Regions from separate parts of the Homo sapiens genome. Here region 1 is linked to region 2. The links are contacts of gene promoters, found by promoter capture Hi-C in blood cells and fetal thymus (Javierre and others, 2016). All regions are on one chromosome and are shown on one strand. Each heading gives the region's core, a stretch centred on a gene start or on the middle of the fragment in contact. The rest is flanking DNA. Distances are from core to core; before and after follow the strand shown.

Region 1 (5,778 bases), core at 2,549-5,048, 220 kb before region 2:
AAAAAAAAAAAAGGTTAGGAATCACAAATTGTGTAAATATATAGCAACTTTAAGAAGAGAGAAGAATGCTTATAACCTAGTGAATATTTCTGCTGAGCCTTAGTTGTCTTGTCTAAAGGAAAAAAGAGGGAATTGTAGAATAAAAGTATTTGTTAGTGGAAATTATTGACCTGAAACCATATCATATTGTTAGTGTAACTGAATGTATCAGAAATTGTTCCTATGTAGGTATTCTGTGAAACTGGTTTCTAAAATGTTACAGGAAACTGTTTCCTTTTTTTTTGTTTGTTTGTTTAAGTGGAGGTGGGAGGAGGTAGGGAAGAGGTCTGAATATTAAAATATGTTTATGTTCATGTGTTCATAATACGTTCCTTTTTCTCTCTGTGTGTGTATAAAAGTGCCTTGCTCATGAATGCATTTTTGCTATTCACTTCGAAAGGAAGCCTTTCCCCAGCTTGGCAGCTGAATAAACCAATAGCTTTGTACATGCTGAACAGAGTATGGTCATTTGTCCTCAACAAATGAAATAGATCCTACTTTGCTTAAGGCATATTCTACATTCACTAAGTACTGAATAGAGTTAATAGATACAGTACCTGAATCTATATAGTATGTCTGACAGGAGATGACTTGGCGTCTCTAGAGAAGAAACACACTTGAAGAAGAAAATGTCTGATATTCAGTCAAGATTCAAAGTGAGCTTATTTGTTTATGTATTTTAAGTAATTCCAGGTTGCACAAAATAACAGGTACCTAAATAAGCCTTAAGTTAACTTTTTGTGTGGCATAAACACTGGGTTTGGGAATGAATTTACTACCTTTGCACTCCCTATGTTGGCTTCTGTTAAATGCAGTCACCATAATTAAGATAAAAAGATTATTTTATCCTCTATTTATAGAAATATTTATCAAAGGAGTAAGGAAACTATTTCTAAACCAGTGGACATTAACTGTCTTTTACTTTCTCAGTGCAGATAGGCAACTTTTTTTTTTTTTTTTTTTTTGAGATGGAGTTTCGCTCTTGTTGCCCAGGCTGGAGTGCAATGGCGCAATCTCGGCTCACTGCAACCTCCACCTCCCGGGTTCAAGCAATTCTGCCTCAGCCTCCCGAGTAGCTGGAATTACAGGCATGTGCCACCACGCCCAGCTAATTTTGTATTTTTAGTAGAGATGGGGTTTCTCAATTGGTCAGGCTGGTCTCTAACTCCTGACTTCAGGTGATCCACCCACCTCAGCCTCCCAAAGTGCTGGGATTACAGGCATGAGCCACCGTGCCCAGCCATAGGCAACATTTTTATTAAAACAGTCCAGATACCTTGAGCCTCAAAGACCATAATCACGTCTTTTAATCCCATCTGCTTCCTAAGAAAAGAAAAAAATCCATACATGCATGGCAGGAGGGCATATGATAGGTCCCCTCTAGGGGATAGAAGCCCTTCCTGCTGGGTCTTCTATCACACCTGTCCATATTTTAAAAAAAAAGTCTCTGATGAAAATGTTTTGATAGTGTAAATAGCTAAAGCATTTAAAGACTTTAGAAGTCACTTGGGTTATTTTCTGATGCGTAAGTTGGCTTGCATCTGGCTTTCTACTTTTGGCTCCAGTGTTAGAGAATATGTCTTTTGGAGCAGCCTGTTAGTTTTAAATATCTCTTGTTAGAAATTTAGCCATTCATCCAATATTGCTATGGAGAAGTGCCTACTCTAGTGCAGACACTGGGAATGCAAAACTAAATAAGATTACTACACATAGGAAATTAGTTTTAAAATATATGAACCTATATGTTACCCCAAGCCATTTCTGCTGTCTAGGGTCATATTAAATAAACCTAAACCCTAATCCATATGTTGGCCCTTCACATATTGAAAATAGCTTATAGTGGAGAATCATATAAAAGAATTGAATGGAGCAGCCATCCAAGTATAATGAAGATTCATCTGGAGGGCAGACTTCAATTAAACCCCCACAACGGATACTCAGCCAAGGAAATGGAGAAAATATATAGATATTTTGTATCCAGATTTAAATTATATCTGCTAATCACAAGGTAGTGGCACAAAGATCAGGGCCAAAAGTGTTTTGCTCAGGTAGCTAGGACATATAGAACAGCCTGAGAAGTATGGATAACTTCTCAGACTTCATGAGTTAACTGTGCAAGCTGGTAACGTATCTGTCCGCCAGTGATACCCATTGGACTGAGGGAGTTACATTAGCTGGACCAACCACCAGTACTTCTATGTCAACTTGCTGTTGCTAAAAGAAAAATGTCTATGATGTGTCTCAAATAATTTTAAATACAGTTGAGTTAATGACTACATATTTGAGTCTGCTAATTCCATGCAGTTTGCCAAGCTCTTCCTTTCAATTAGCAGCCGCAGTGAGACTTAAGTTTGCAACTGAGACCAAGAAATGGAAAGGATGAGGATATACCACAGTGACCTGACACTTGCTGGCTTCCCATCTTCTGTGAGAGCTATGACCAGCTATTCTCAATGAGCTCTGGAAAATGAATGCCTGGTTTTCTTTTATTATTATTATTATTTTTTTATTTTTTTGACACAGGGTTTCGCTCTTGCCTAGGCTGGAGTGCAGGGGCATAATCTTGGCTCACCGCAGCCTCGACCTCCTGGGCTCAAGCCATCCTCCCACCTCAGCCTCATCAGTAGCTGTGGACTACAGGTGCACACCACCACACAGGCCAATTTTTGTATTTCTTTGTAGAGGCAGTTTCACTCAGGCTGGTCAGGAACTCCTGAGCTCAAGTGATCCTCCCACATCAGCCTCCCAAAGTGCTGGTGTTACACTGGTACCTGGTATAAAAAAAAAAAAAAAAAAAAAGGAAAATAACAGTGTAACAGGAAGACAGCGATAGGGTTATTTCTTCTAAACTGTGGAGTCAGTTAAAAACGTTAGCAACAGTTTCAAGTTGAATCATAAAACGAAGTTGACTGGAATTTGGGCAGTTTATTTAGGAAGATTCTGACACGTGATATGAAAATTCCTGGGATCATTAGGGGAGTTAGGCTCTATATAACAACAATCATTCAGGAGGGACTCAGGATACTGGTTAGCTTAACAAGATTAAAACTGACTTCCTAGTATACACATAAACCAAGCTAGTTTCTCAAATTAGCAACAGAAACCAGATGAAACTCCTCAAATGAGTGTTGCAAAATAAGGAGCTGGTACTATAGTTTTATTTGGGGAGAAATTGTTAAGTTTGGGTTAACTGCTCAGCCTATGCCTGATACTACCCTTCCATCTATGGTATCAGCTGTGGCACCTGACACTCCAATGTATCAGCTGATGGTTTTGGTTTACAATAAATTAATTAAGCAATGGACCAGTAGGGGCAACTTCTTTGAGAGGTACCCAAACAAGTGGAACAGCCCAAGGGCATGGCCATCTTCCATCAAAAAAGACCCTAGGTGGGCTTTCTGGTTGCACCCTGAGTAACCAGAATGGCCTGATAGACTGGCAGAGCTCTGGTGAAAGAAGGGTGCAGCCACTACCTGAAGAACTCTAATTTCTGAATCAATTGAAAGCTGGCATTAATGTTGGCCACAGACAATGCATTCCATGTAGACTTACTGCAAAGTGTGTTATATGATATTGATCCCTGTCTACCTACTTGGTACTTAAGTAGACTCCCATGGCTTGAAAGCTTTGGACCAGACCCCAGTTTCCTTCTTTGAATGCAGTTTTTCTGTGTTGTCACATCCTACTTGGGACACGTTTCTTTAAATGGGTTGGGTTGCCTGATGTAGCAAAAAGAAATACAGGACACCCGAATACATTTGAATTTCAGAAAAATAATGAAATATGGCACATATACCAGAAAAAAAGTTATGTTATTTATCTGAAATTCAAATTTAGTTTCCTGCATTTTATCTGCAACCCTATAAATATGTTAGTGGCATGGATTAAGCTTGGGTTTTAGTCTATGTAGTTGTTCCCAGGAACTGTCTTGACTCTTTCCAGTATGTGTTGTTTTCTTATGTCTAAGTAATTGACTAGTAGCCAGGAGCAGTGCTGGTGCACACCCGTAGTCCTAGCTACTCAGGAGGCTAAATTGGGAGGATTGCTTGAGCTGAGGAGTTTGAGGTTGCAGTGGGTTATGGTCATGCCACTGCACTCCAACATGGGCACCAGAGCAACCGCCCATCTCTAAAATAATAATATTTAATAATAAGAGACTGGGGGCAAGGAAGGCTCACACATAGTTGACCCAAGTTGTATTTCTTATATATTTATTTATTTATTTCTTAGAACTGTTGTTGAGTGTCAGAAGAGGAGGCCCAATTGCAGATATGAGAGTTTTTATAGGAGACACGTGGTATTTAGCTAAAATAACCACATAACCATTACAATATTTGCAAACACAAATTTTTTAAATGCTGTCTCAACAGCAGGTAGTTTGGGTTTGTGGTTTGTTGTCGTTGTGAGATGGAGACTCACCCTGTCGCCAGGCTGGAACGCAGTGGTGCGATCTCGGCTCACTGCAATCTCCACCTCCTGTGTTCAAGCAATTTCCCTGCCTTGGCCTCCTGAGTAGCTGGGACTACAGGTGCGCACCACCATGCCCAGCTAATTTTTTGTATTTTAGTAGAGATGGTTTCACCATGTTGGCCAGGATGGTCTCAATCTCCTGACCTCATGATCCACCCACCTGAGCCTCCCAAAGTGCTGGAATTACAGGCGTGAGCCACCGCACCTGGCCATCTGTGTGTGTTTTAAGCAGTTACTTTCTCACTCTTCTTTACCATGAAGGGAAAGTATATCACTCTTTAAAAACAAAAAATACTCGATAGGTAGCACAGTTATGATACCCATTCTTCATCACAGAAAAGGTTCACAAATTTGGAACACCTATCTTTGCCTTCCAGAACCCCCAAAAGACTTGAGGATTTAAAGGCACAAGGTACCCTGGAAGGTGGGAGTAATAAAGAAAGTTGAAACAAGGGGATTATTTGAACATTTATTTTTGCTCTTCTTTTGTAGGCAGGCAGCTATCTCTCTAGCAGATGACTGAAGCCTTATTGTCTGGAGAAATTAAACCAAACAGACTTAGAACTGAGGACAGGGGGAGGATGGTAATGGTAGTGATGTGCTATATGGAAGACAAAATGATTAACAGAATGTGAGTATTCTGAACATTATGAGCCTCCAGTCCACTTTTCTCCACCTGGCTACAGAATCTGGCAATGGGGCTTATACCCAGCCCTGCTCACCTGACCGAAAAAGACAAGCAGTAAAAAAACAGCTTGACCCTCGATTATTTGTTACAGTGAAACTGAGAGTCCACAAGGCCTGCTCCTTCATATACAGCTTTCAGTCACTTGGAATCACTGTACACAGATAGCCAAGGATCACTAGATATTTGAGGAAACCTTCAACATGAAAGATGAACATAAAGAAGCTGTGATATTCTCAGAAAGGAATATACTGCTTCCATCAAATAGGATCAGGATGCTATTTTAAAAAATGACCAATCCAAAAACAAAAGCTATTGGAAAAACAGGAAACCAAAAGTAAACATTCAGTAGATGTATTAGAAAATAACTTGAAGAAATTTTAAAAAGTAGAACAAAGAGATGAAAAGCAGGCAAGAACAAAAAAGAAACTTAAACCTGAATAAGATGCAACATCTAATAAATGAGTTCCAAAATGAGAGAACAGAGAAAGAAGGTGAAGAGAGAAAAAAATTAAAATAACATTTCCCGGAAATAATAAGACTTTAGTCTTCTAAATTAAAAGGGTCCACTAAGTGCCCTGTGA
Region 2 (5,213 bases), core at 1-2,500:
CACCAAAGAAAACGGCCTTCCTTGGCATTGGTAACTCTGCCAGGTTCTAACTTCCCTAAGATTGTTCACTCCCCGGGAATCAATGGAGCCAACTGAGCAACTGTTATCTGGGTAGGCTGTGGCACAGTACTGGAGATAGCACTGGTCAGGCGACTGGTCCCTCCACCACTGAGATACCTGCAGGAGACTGGAGCTCAAGCTCCCCCTAGAACGTTCTTCTGCAGGGACAGTCATCTCTTTCTGGTGCTTAGGCATGACTCCCAAGCTTGTGCTGGTTCCGAGAGCCATTCCCTTTGCAGATCCTTCACATCTGAAGAGCGACCTTCGTAATTTTTTGGAGTTCACTTTTCTTCTGGAAGATGCTCTTAATTCTGGGAAACGTGGGTCTCTCCCCAAAGCCCTTTTCTCTAGAGAGGCATGCTTTTCCTCTAGAAACCCTTCCAAGCTACTTAACTCCCTGACCTTTCACTTCCGCGGGGGAAGGAGCCCTGTGACTCTGGGACCTCAGAAACCCTTTCACCTTGGCAAACTCGGGCTTCCTCCAAGCTCGGATGGGAGCCCCACCGCCGCGTCTTTCCCCGGGTTACTGCCAGGACCGCGGGTGACGACTGGAGCAAGTGCGCGGCCGAGTGGAGCCGGGTAAAGGGCGGCTACAACCATCACCCCCTAGCCCCGAGCAGGGGAATCGCGCCCTCAATACGACCGCTGGGGTCCTCAGCGGCCTAGGCCGATCCCCGCAAGGAGAGAATTTTTCTTTTAAACTGATTTTTGCAACTTGGCTTGGGCGCCCAGGACACCGCGGCTTCGACCAGCCCCGCAGCCCCAGTAGCCCACGGGCAGGGCCCCAGCGGCGGACCATGAGCGAGCCGCCGCCTCTCACCTTCGTCATGTCTGCGGTGGAGAGACTCCGGCTCCCGAAACGTCTCACGGCCAGACGTCGGACGACTACTCGCCCCGCAGCCGGAAGAGGCAGCAAGAACATCTTGTCGGCTCGGCCCCTCGCACCGCCCTCCAGCGAGCACGTGGAGAGCGGTGGGCGGGCGCGCCTTGGGGCGGGGCTTTCGGGGCGCAGACGGCGTGCGCGCGGACTGGCTCGGGCGCCGGGCGAGCGGACGTGCGTCTAGGGGGCGGGACGGATGGGCAGCACCGGCCGACTGGACCGCTGGGATCAAACCGCGGTTGTGGAGGGGACTCAAGGGTGCGCCCGCATTCGTGTGCGCCCGCATTCGTGTGCGCCCGCATTCGTGTGCGCCCGCGCATGCGGGCGGGGGCGAAAAGGCGGGGCTTCCGGACGCGGTTGACAGTCCCGGGAGCAACGCGAAGTAGAGGGGCGGGACCGATATGGTGACGTCACACGATGGGTGGGGCGGAGGCGGGGCGAGTTCTGCAAGCGGGCGTGGGCGGAGCGCTGGGCAACTCCCGGGAAATAGAAACTGAGTGCCAGAGCTTGTTGTCAAGGTTGCTGAATAGACGACTGCATAGTGAAGACACTCCCACTGAGTTTTCGTTTGTTTGTTTGGTTTTTTTGAGTCGGAGTCTCGCTCTGTCACCCAGGTTGGAGTGCAATGGAGCGATCTCGGCTCACTGCAACCTCCCGCTGCTTAGTTGAAACGATTCTCCTGCCTCGTCCTCCCGAGTAGCTGGGATTAGGGGCGCCCGCCACCACGCCCAGCTAATCTTTGTGTTTTTTTGTTGTTTTTTTGGATTTTTTTTTTGAGGCGGAGTCTCGCTCTTGTAGCCCTGGCTGGAGTGCAGTGGCGCAATCTCGGCTCACTGCAACCTCCGCCTTTCGGGTTCAACAGATTCTCCTGCCTCAGCCTCCCGAGTAGTTGGGACTACAGGCGCCCACCACCACACCTGGCTAATCTTTGTATTTTTAGTAGAGACAGTGTTTGGCCATGTTAGCCAGGCTGGCTTTGAACTCCTGACCTCTGGTGATACACCCGCCTCAGCCTGCCAAAGTGCTGGGATTACTTACAGGCGTGAGCCACCGTGCCCGGCAACTCTTTGTATTTTTAGTAGAGACGAGGTTTCACCATGTTGTCCAGGCTGGTCTCGAAGTCCTGACCTCGTGATCCACTTGCCTCGGCCTCGCTAAGTGCTGGGATTACAGGCGTGAGCCACCGCACCTGGCCTGAGTTATTTTTATTCGTGTCCTTTCATCTGTTCCACAGGTGCAACGGTGTAAATACTGTTTTTGAAAATGATGTAACACTATTAGGTTCGTTGACTCGTGCACATAGCAAGTCAATACGCCCAGACACCAGGGTTGCAGCAGAGAAAGAGGTGTAATCGTGGAGTCGCCAAAGGAGGAGATGGGAGGAAACCTCAAATCCATCTCCCTGAGGAATTTGGGGTCAAGGTTTTTAAGGGTTTTGGAGAGGGCTATAGTGTGGAGATCGTTGATTGAAGAGTGCAGGGTGAAGTCATGGGACAGGGCGTTGAAGAACCTGTATTCTTAAGCTGACCCCATTCCTCTCTGGGGATCTTCAAACTGGTAGCTGGAATTCAAGGTCTGAAAAATATCTTAAGCGATCCTTAAACAGAAAGCTTATGATTCTAATGTCAGAGATCCTGTCTATAGGAACAATGGGAATGCAAATGGTCAGTATGTAGTGCTAGGTGACTTTTAGCAACAAGGAAGTGGGCCAAAGTACAGCCTGATTAATGCTTAATTATAACTATATTTCTGCCTAGAACTTGGCATGAAATTTTTGTCAACACAGTGGGGATGGTTTCAATAGAAAGTTTTCAAGTAGTGCTCAATATTTTTATATATTTTTATTTTCTGTAAAGCGTTTTGTTTTTTTTAATTCCTTATTTTTTACTTTTTTTTTTTTAACGGAGTCTTGCTCTGTCACCCAGGCTGGAGTGCACTGGTGTGATCTCAGCTTATTGCAACCTCCACCCCTGGGTTCCAGCGATTCTCCTGCCTCAGCCTCCCAAGTAGTTGGGATTACAGGCGCCCGCCAACACGCCTGGCTAATTTTTGTATTTTCAGTAGAGATGGAGTTTCACCATGTTGGCCAGGTGGGTCTTGAAGTACTGACCTCAAGTGATCCACCCGCCCTGGCCTCCCAAATTGCTGGGATTACGGGCGTGAACCACCGCGCCCGGCTGGTTTTAAATTTCTCATTGTAAAAAAGTACACAGCTGAATGCAACTCGGAGAATATGGGTAAGCACGAGGAGGGATACAAAAATTGTTCTTAATAATGACACCAGCCAGCTGGGTGCAGTGACTCATGCTTATAATCCCAGGACTTTGGGAGGCCGAGGTGGGAGGATCGACTCAGCCCAGGAGTTCAAGACCACCCTGGGCAAGGTAGTGAGATACCCATCTCTACAAAAAGTTAAAAAATTAGCCAGATGTGTGCCTGTAGTCCCGCTAATGGGGAGACTGAGGTAGGAGGTTTGCTTGAGCCTGGGAGGTTGAGTCTGCAGTGAGCCATAATTGTACTACTACACTCCAGCTTAGGTCACAGAGCAAGACCCCATCTCTTTTTAAAAAAATTACACCACTGTTGATCTGATTGCAATTTTAGCTGAGGTGCAGGGGTGTGGGGAGGCTTACACCAGCTGCAGTGAGCAAAGTCTTCACCTTGAGCTCAGTTGCAGGAAAGAAAGAATGTCTATTTCACTCTCCAAGAGCTAGACACTCCAGAGGAGAGATTTGATCTTCCTCTCTTGAAGGCTGAGTGGGTTGGACTGGTAGGTCCACTCTGGCTTCCACCTTCTCTAGATAGTTAAAATGGAGTTGCATCATAAACTCAATAAACTCACCAAATTTTATCTATATTTGCTCCAAAGACAGCGAAATCTTTACATTCACTTTACAGCTCTTCCCTCCTTCCAACGTGATAGATCAGGCCGCAGTTTCTGAAACTAAAAAATGGAATGCGAAAACCTGTCCCCTCCTTGGTATGTGAGTAGAGGGTCTCTGAGCTTCAGAGGCATCCAAGCCTCAGAGCTGTAGGTTACCCTTGTCTGTATCTGCTCAGCTGAATTTATTACCTGTTTTATTGACTTGCGGGTCCAGCCTGAGACTCTGGTGTATCATTTACTTTTCTCTTTGCTTCAAGGACCACACCATTTACATTTTCACATGCCTAATGGTACAAAAGAAAAGTACATTTCACAGTCTACAAATAATCAGGATTGTGGATCACTTTGGGATGAAAGATTTAGTCATCCTTCAAACCCTAAGTTTACAAGGTGCTTAAGATGTTTTTCTGTTAGAAATCATGGGATAAAAAAGAATCTAAAACAGTGTCCCTGTCTTCAAGGATTTTATTATTGTAGAGGGGGCAAAACTTAACCTCTACCATCTTAGGGTCTCCAGCTGGGCCTGAGAATTAAGTTGACATAAGACAGATTAACGAGAAAAACATATTAATTGGCTGGGCACAGTGGCTCACACCTGTAATCCCAGCTCTTTGGGAGGCCAAGGCAGGTGGATCGCTTGAGCCCAGGAGTTCGAGACCAGCCTGGGCAACATGGCAAAACCCTGTCTGTACAAAAAATACAAAAAAAACAGCCATATGTGGTGGTGCATGCTTGTAGTGCCAGCTGCTCGGGAGACTGAGGTAGGAGGATCACTTGAACCTGGGAGATTGAGGCTTCAGTGAGGCATGATTGTGCCAGTGCACTCCAGCCTGGGTAACAGAATGAGACCCTGTCTCAAAAAATAATAATAATCATATATATATATATATATACACACACACACACACACACACACACACATATAAATTTTATTTAATAGTTTTGCACGTACTTGGAAGCCCTTACAGGAAAATCGAGACCCCCCAAAATGGTTAGGCCTAAGTGCTCATATACTAGGTTGAACAAAAATAGTAATTTTGAAAAAGTATATTTATATGGGAAAACTAAAGGAAATAAAGGTTAGTCTAACAAGAGTTGTTTGTACAGATTTCTCTCGGCCTTGACTCTCCCTCTTTGGTGATAATGTTCCTTTCTTTCTGGTGCAGGGAGGGCAGCATTCACATGAGAGCTGATCTCCTGCTTTCAGGAAGTAAAGAGAGGCCAGAGTACCCTTCTTGCATCTGCTGTATTTTAAGTGCCTTTAGCTCAAAAAAATCTTTATGTCAAAGTTTTATATTCTGCTGTCCTCTATTATCTAGTAGAGGCAAGAGATATGGTGATTGTAAAAATATTGTTATAAAAAAAGAAAAGGCAGTGTTTCACAGAGTT

What was found. The method cuts DNA at HindIII sites, captures the fragments that hold promoters and counts their contacts. A CHiCAGO score of 5 or more calls a contact.
Region 1: a fragment that was not itself captured here is called in contact with the fragment with the promoter of LAP3 in region 2 in 13 of 17 cell types (total B cells, fetal thymus, neutrophils and 10 more); the score reaches 11.2 in total B cells.

The regions. Positions count from the first base shown.
Region 1 is chr4:17,795,371-17,801,148 of GRCh38, reverse strand. It overlaps DCAF16 (DDB1 and CUL4 associated factor 16), which reads left to right. Exons shown (of 3, transcript NM_017741.4): 3 at 1-494. Among named protein-coding and RNA genes, the nearest start is that of DCAF16, 12 kb to the left of the region's middle. The HindIII fragment of the contact is 264 bases long and covers 3,667-3,930 here.
Region 2 is chr4:17,573,235-17,578,447 of GRCh38, reverse strand. LAP3 (leucine aminopeptidase 3) reads right to left here and starts at 1,250. Exons shown (of 13, transcript NM_015907.3): 1 at 881-1,250. The coding sequence starts at 982. RefSeq lists enhancers at 703-902, 1,243-1,602 and a silencer at 973-1,182. The HindIII fragment of the contact is 2,285 bases long and covers 268-2,552 here.